Regions from separate parts of the Homo sapiens genome. Here region 2 is linked to region 1. The links are contacts of gene promoters, found by promoter capture Hi-C in human tissues and cell types (Jung and others, 2019). All regions are on one chromosome and are shown on one strand. The core of a region is centred on a gene start or on the middle of the fragment in contact, and the rest is flanking DNA. Distances in the headings are between cores, read along the strand shown. Region 1 holds the start of TAS2R13 (taste 2 receptor member 13). Region 2 has its middle 120 kb from the start of BCL2L14.

The links. Contacts are between HindIII fragments. The study calls those that stand out against the background at their distance.
Region 2: a fragment that was not itself captured here is called in contact with the fragment with the promoter of TAS2R13 in region 1 in 1 of the 25 tissues and cell types used here (mesenchymal stem cells).

Annotation. Positions count from the first base shown.
Region 1 is chr12:10,908,266-10,912,139 of GRCh38, reverse strand. TAS2R13 (taste 2 receptor member 13) reads left to right here and starts at 2,578. Exons shown (of 1, transcript NM_023920.2): 1 at 2,578-3,874. The coding sequence starts at 2,842. The coding sequence ends at 3,753. The region is part of intron 4 of PRH1-PRR4 (PRH1-PRR4 readthrough); the gene reads left to right. It also overlaps a transcript of PRH1 not described here. The HindIII fragment of the contact is 21,748 bases long and covers 1-3,874 here.
Region 2 is chr12:11,947,272-11,951,346 of GRCh38, reverse strand. No RefSeq gene overlaps it. Among named protein-coding and RNA genes, the nearest start is that of BCL2L14, 120 kb to the left of the region's middle. RefSeq lists an enhancer at 739-1,523. The HindIII fragment of the contact is 4,348 bases long and covers 1-4,075 here.

The DNA of each region.
Region 1 (3,874 bases), core at 1,329-3,828:
ACTATACAGCAATTGAATAAATGATCTATCTCTATATGCAACATGATTAATTTTAGAAACATAATATTGATCAAAAATAGTTAAATTCAAAAATATTGTGTACAGTATTATTCCATTCATGTGCAATCCAAAACCAGGCAAAACCAAGCTAGTGCTTAGGGATACATATTCAAATTAAAATATACAAAGTTAAACAATAACGTGATTTGAATTGCAGATAGTTGTTACTTCTGGAATGAAGATAGGGGTTGTGATTAGAAAGGAGCAAATAAGGTGTTATGGGGTTTACAAAGTTCTCTTTCTTGCCATGGGAGGCTTTTAAATTAGTGTGCACTTTATACTATAGCATTTAAACTTCATTAAATGTTCTATATTTGTTATATGTAACAATAATAGGCAGCAAAAATGAAAAAGAGAAAAGAAATATTTCTAAACAAATGATATGAGGTTAGCTAAATCTTAATACCAAATTCTCATAGGCACAATATGAGAAATGAAAATTAAATGTCAATATTCCTTAAAAACATAGCTGCAAATATCCTAACACAACGTTGGCAAACTGCATCCATCAGTGACTTAAAAAATACTTTACATACTCAAACCTTTCATTGTTTCCTCTTCCTGCCCTTTGCCTCATTTTCCTTTTCAGTTCAGACTGCTGAAAAAGTTTTTCTGTGATGCTCCCTAGCATCTATTCTCTTTCTCTTATAGAAGTGAGAGACTACATCTCTTTGATTAAATTTATATTTTTAAATGTTTTCTCTTATGGAAACACACCAGGAAAATGCAGCTCAGAACCGCAAGCCTGTTATCCATTCTCTATGTCTTTGTCATGTGTTATATCACAAGTTCTAAAAACTGTGGTATTTTTTCATATACCAGCAAGTACAGTACCATTCCTCAGGCCTATTTGTACAGATTTGGGGTATTATCAAGTTGTGACCGGCATCCCCAAACCCTTTTCTCTAGATAGGTAGGAAGAACACCCTAAAATGAAAAAGTATAAAAGATCTCTTCAGCCCTGGGTCAAGAATGCAAATGGAAGACCACATGCCACATAGCTACATATTTAAAGGTCATAAATATACAAACCTAACAAACTGTTAAAGGAGACATTTTCTATTCTATCTTGACAAATATACCATTATAACAACAAAATAGAAAATATCTACCTATTTTAAGTTATAATTGAAACTTGCAAATCATTAAAGATGATGCAATTATTTTGTAAATTTTTTAGTACTCTGTAGATCACCCAATAAAGATTGCATGAGTAATAAAATACAAACATTCATAATTCACAAATTATATCTTTATTAAATAAAAATAGCTTTGTATTCATCTAGCTAAATGGCTACTTATTATCTTATAATCAAGATAAAGTGTTTTATTTATATTAATTTTGAATTAGACAATCTTTCTTGAGTCTCCACGTTTTCAGAATTTTGGTAATCCACTTTTTTTCGGTAGTTTTTGAAAGAGTGGGGCGGGGTGAGGAACCTTGACTCTTCACAATGAACACATTAGTCCCCGCTTATCTGCAGTTTCAGTGACCCAAGGTCAACCACAGTCCAAAAATAGGTGTGTACAGTACAGTAAGGTATCTTGAGAGAGTGAGAGACACCACACTATATATTTTAACACATTTTTTTACTTTTTATTTTTTTAATTTTTATTTATTTTAGATACAGGGTCTCCCTATGTTGCCCAGGCCGGTCTCAAACTTTTGGGCTCGAGCGGTCCTCCCGCCTCAATCTCCCAAATTGCTAGGATTACAGGGATGAGCCACAACCCCTGGCAACTTTTATTATAGTATATTGTTTTAATTGTTCTATTTTATTATTAGTTATTTTTGTAATCTTTTACTGTGCTTGATTTACAAATTAAACTTTATCATAGGTAGGTGAATACAGGAAAAAAATATATTGTATATAGAGTTTGGTACTATCTGCTGTTTTAGGCATCCACTGGGGGTCTTGGGACATAGGCCTCATGGATAAGGGGAACTAGTGTATCTATTTCTTTGCTTGGTTTTCAGTTTTGCAAGTTATGATGTAATATAGTACTGCTTTCTTTGGTAGCTGTTGCTGATTTTGTAAAATTTGTTTTTTTATCACTTTTAAGTTTAAAAAAGAAATATGAGGGGAAAAGCGGATAAAATGTGAAGGCATTTGGTGCCTATGGAGGGATGGTGGTGAGCACTGCTAAGTAGTGATGAGGCAGGGAATGAGAAAGATGGATGCTTTGTAAACGAGTTTCTCTTTAGTCACAGTATTGACCAGATCCAGCTTTAGCTCCACAAGAAATTGAGCACTCTTTTGAAATAGCATAGGTAAGTCTTTGCATATTTTATAAAGCTTCATTGGCTATGCTATTAGCCATAAAAGCTTCATTTAGCTACATATTCTATGAATCAGATTTTTATAATATTTGTACCTCAGAACTCAAGCTGGTTGAATCTAATTTTCTATGCTCAGACAAGGCAAAAAAGTACAAAACAATGAAAGAGAATATATCTTTATTTGCATGGTTGCAAATGTGAGTTTAACTTTGCTGCATAATCATCTATGAAATATTTCTGCCCATGGTGAAGACATAAATATCTTAGCTAGGGCTCAGCAGAGAAATTGAAGAAAAATAAAGATATCACCAGAACAGTTATGTGAAGATCGATCAGCAAACTTTAGAGATTTCTGCTTTGACGTTGAGCCAACAATGAAAGAAGGAGCAGAAAAAGGAGAAGGAAGAAGAACTCCACTGGACACTCAAGGATGTGAATAGCATTTTAGATCAGTGAATAACCAGCAGTGACATTAGACATTGAACTTTCTCTGTTCTGACATGGAAAGTGCCCTGCCGAGTATCTTCACTCTTGTAATAATTGCAGAATTCATAATTGGGAATTTGAGCAATGGATTTATAGTACTGATCAACTGCATTGACTGGGTCAGTAAAAGAGAGCTGTCCTCAGTCGATAAACTCCTCATTATCTTGGCAATCTCCAGAATTGGGCTGATCTGGGAAATATTAGTAAGTTGGTTTTTAGCTCTGCATTATCTAGCCATATTTGTGTCTGGAACAGGATTAAGAATTATGATTTTTAGCTGGATAGTTTCTAATCACTTCAATCTCTGGCTTGCTACAATCTTCAGCATCTTTTATTTGCTCAAAATAGCGAGTTTCTCTAGCCCTGCTTTTCTCTATTTGAAGTGGAGAGTAAACAAAGTGATTCTGATGATACTGCTAGGAACCTTGGTCTTCTTATTTTTAAATCTGATACAAATAAACATGCATATAAAAGACTGGCTGGACCGATATGAAAGAAACACAACTTGGAATTTCAGTATGAGTGACTTTGAAACATTTTCAGTGTCGGTCAAATTCACTATGACTATGTTCAGTCTAACACCATTTACTGTGGCCTTCATCTCTTTTCTCCTGTTAATTTTCTCCCTGCAGAAACATCTCCAGAAAATGCAACTCAATTACAAAGGACACAGAGACCCCAGGACCAAGGTCCATACAAATGCCTTGAAAATTGTGATCTCATTCCTTTTATTCTATGCTAGTTTCTTTCTATGTGTTCTCATATCATGGATTTCTGAGCTGTATCAGAACACAGTGATCTACATGCTTTGTGAGACGATTGGAGTCTTCTCTCCTTCAAGCCACTCCTTTCTTCTGATTCTAGGAAACGCTAAGTTAAGACAGGCCTTTCTTTTGGTGGCAGCTAAGGTATGGGCTAAACGATGAGAAACTCACAATTTCATAAGCCATTCAGACCACAGATTATTGAATATTGCAGACAGAAACAGGAGTCTACAAGGAGTTTAAAAGATATTTTATGCTTCCCCTGGTTTCTTTTATTGTGAAG
Region 2 (4,075 bases), core at 668-3,167, 1.0 Mb before region 1:
TATGAATTCCATAGACACTCTCCCATCAAAATAATTATCATTTAGTGGTCCATTTTTTGAGTGGACTGTCTTATTAACACACCCGGGAAGTATCAAATGGTATTTGATAACTAAAGGAATTTGTTTACCTTGCACAATGTATTTAAGTTAGTGAAATTCCACTGTTGATTTCATTTGGTCCAACCCCAACACCACTGATTTTCTTCTCCACTGTTTCTGTATCCTCATTCACTCAACCCGTCCCAACTCTTAAGCTGTTTGAACCCAGTTACCTTTAATTCTGACTTCTGAGTTATAATTACTTGCATTTGCTGTCTGCCTTCATAATTATTAAATATTCTCAACATTATCTTGTTTAATCCTCAGAAGATGAGCCAATGATTAAACAGTATCATCCCCATTTTATAGAGGCAGAAAGGGAAGCTTGTGCAGGTTAAGTGAGTTTGCACAAGATTACAGCCAAAAAGGAGCCAAGCCATTTGACAAGGGTGTTCTCATTTCTGACTTTTTCCATTATGCTCCAGCTGTCCCCTCTTATCTCATCAAAGTCATCCTCATCAGCTACTATATAAGGGCATTTGCCTAGTAAGTCTTCATCTATTTCTCTTTATTTCTGTTCCTCCTGGTTTTCACTCCTAGCTTTCCCTGACTGTTCCAGCCATTTGCACTCCCAAGACCAGCTTTAGCCGATTTACCTTATTACATCCCAAAAAGGAAGAAGCCTTGGTGATTGGGTCTGGTTGTCCACCTATTTTCCCAGCTTTTAACCCAGACATCTTTGCCATGATCATGACTATTATTTCAGAACTTGGAGGACACTCTTCAATTACCTGCATTTCCTCTGGCAGAGCTGACAGACCATCCGTATGGGTAGAGTGCTCTTTGCCTCAATTGTAATAAAAATTTTAATTATTCATCAGTACAGTAGCTGTTAGACAAATGCCCAATTATTATTCATCCATAGCTAAGTAACCTTCTGCTCTTTTTTGGAACAGTGACAAGCGCAGCCCTGCCAGAACTGGCAGAGGGCACAGATCAAAGAGTGCTTTGTGCCTTGCTTTTACCAGGAAAGAGAAGGAGAGCCAGAGCTTCCTGCTGGTGCCCCGGCCTCCTCCCTCACCTGTCCCCCAATGCAGCTCCCTCCAAGCCCAACAGCCCCGAGTCAGGAAAGCTGGGAGCAGGGGAGACTTGGAGTCCCCGCCAGCAGGCTGCAGCTGTGGGGCACTGGGCACGGCCAGGTCACCTGGCAGAGGCTCTGGGTGGAACAGCTGCAGGGGGCTTGTTGCCAAAGAAGTGACAAAATTGCAAACGAGGGTTTGGAGAGTGGCTTTTGCTTAGACATACACTGTGGCTGATTTTCCTTCACAATAGGTGGCACCTCCCTGCCCTTCCCCTGCAGGCCCAGGTGACCAGGCCAGCAAAGTCGTGAAGGAGGACGTCTCCTCAGGTGGCAGCCCTTCCCTCCCTGCTTCTGGTTTCTCCTTCCAGTGACTCTTCCTTGTGAAGCTCCTCCTCCGGCTCACCAAAGCATCAGAACCTTTAGGCTGACCCAGATCTCAGGGATGGGGGCTTTTCCTGGCTGGACAGCTTTCCTAGTTTCCACTGTGCTACCTTTTCCTCTCAAAACGTAGCAGGAGGCAGCTCTTGGCCAGAGAGACTCATGCCCTCTGCCTACTCTCCAGAAAGCCTTTCTGCACATTCTAAGAGGCACCCAGGCTTTGCCATATCCCCTCTCATCTTCCATCCTGAGACCTTGTGGAACTTGCTGCCGGCGGCTTCCACATGGAACCTCAGCCCTTCCCCAGAATGGGTCTCCCACAGGGCAGCCCCTTCTGGCTGCTGCAGACCCCAGGGGTCTGTGCCTGTGGGACCCTCACACCACTACACTCAGCCTATCCAAACCACTCTGCTGCCACCTCCTTGTCCTTTCTGCAACACACCTTTCTCCCGAGGAGCACCCCCGTGTCACTTTCTCACCTCAGGGTTCCCATCCTCCCTTTCTCGGTCATGTCACCTCCCTCCCCTTTAACCTGCCATGGCTTTCCACCTTCAGCTGTAAAAGCTGAAGTCTTTACAATGCGCCTACGTGGTTGGCCCCCCAGTTACACTCCAACGAATACAAATTCTACTTTCCTCCTCCTCCCTCTCTCTTCGGCAGCTCCACAGGTAAAACCTGATCCTGCCTCAGGGTGTTTGCACTTGCTGCTCTCAGACTTGAAAACTCTTCACACAGATATTCACTGTCTTACTCCTTCATCTTCCATGTTCATTCTATACAGAGTAATGCCCAGCCGCTCCTCACCCCACCAACCTAATCTTTTTATGGCCTTGTTACCTCAATATATCATTTATTTATTTTTTGTTTATTGTCCACCTCCCTCTAGTAGAAGCTAAGTAAGCTTCATGAGAATAGAGACTTTGTTTTTGTTCACAGATAGTGGAGTGCTGTGGACTGAGTTGTGTCCCTCCCCTCCCCAATCATGCATTGAAGCCCACTGAGGAGCTCCTCAGCTGGCACCACCATTTCTGACAATTCCAGAGCTGACTGCCTGGGAAGAAACAGAGGCACCCAGGGCCTCTTGGCCTCTCGGTGTCTCTTCAAAGTCAAAGAATATTTGTGGTGGGAACGAGATGACGGGGAGTCAGAAGGATGGGAGCTGTGGTCACAGCATGAAGCACAGGGGTCCAAGAGTTCTGGGGGGAGGCTCAGGCTGGAGATAACAAGTTGGGTTGCCCAATGTGATGGTGTTTGGAGAGGGGGTCTTTAGGAGGTGATTAGGTTCAGATGAGGTCGTAAGAGTAGGACCCTCATGGTGGGATTAGTGTCCTTATAAGAAGAGACACCAGAGAGCTCATATGTGCTCTCTCTCTCTGCCCCGACCTCAGGCGAGGACACAGTGAGAAGGTGGCCATCACCAGACCCCAGCCATGCTGGCTGACACCCTGATCTCCGACTTCCAGACTCCAGAACTGATATGGTTTGGGTCTGTCTCCCCACCCAAATCTCATGTAGAATTGCAATTCCCAGTGTTGGAGGTGGGCCTGGTGGGAGGTGACTAGATCATAGGGGCGGGTTCTCATGAATGGTTTAACACCACCACCCCCCCCACTTGGTACTCTCTTTGGGATAGTGAGGGAGTTCTCGTCAGATCTGGTTGTTTAAAAGTGTGCAGCACCTCCTCCTCCCTCTCTCTCTTGCTCCTGCTCCCTCCATGTGGGACCTGTCGCTCCTGCTTTGCCTTCCAGCATGGTTGGAAGCTTCCTAAAGCCTCCCCAGAAGCAGAAGCCGCTATGCTTCCTGTACAGCCTGCAGAACTGTGAGCCAATTAAACCTCTTTCCTTTATAAATTACCCAGTCTCAGGTATTCCTTTAAAGCAGTGCGAGAATGGACTCTTACAAGAACTATGAAAAATAAATTCCTATTGTTTAAGCCATGGTATTTCGTTCTGGCAGCCTGAGCCAACTAAGACATGGAGGTTCATTATTGGTTTAAATAAATAAATATTTGCTTAAATGAACAAATTGATGTTCCAGGTAGCAAGGGGCCAGGAGAGGAAAGCTAGACTGTTGTGGTTGTCGCTTGTTTGCTCCCATGGCTACTCTGCCCCTGTGTGAAGTCGTCCGAGGCTATTACCACCTGGCTCTACCTCCTCTCATTGTCACCTACTGTTTCCTTGTGATTCTCTCACTGAGGCTTCATTCTTCATTTTCTTCCACTCAATTTTTAATACCCCTATAGATGATCTGCCTCTCAAACTGCTTCCTCAGTTTCAAGATCTTATCACCACTGCACTCCACCCTCCCACAGGACTTGCTATCCCACGCTGAGGATCCCCCCAGAAGTCTTACACCCCGTGCTTCATGCTGTGACCACAGCACCCATCCTTCTGACTCCCCGTCATCTTGTTCCCACCACACAAGCTGTTTGACTTTGAAGAGACTCCGAGAGGCCGAGAGGCCCTGGTTCCTTCTGTTTCCTCCCAGGCAGTCAGCTCTGGAGTTGTCACAAATGGTGGTGCCAGTTGAGGAGTCAGGGAGGGGCTGAAATCTAAGCTGCACTTTGCTCAGCAAGCT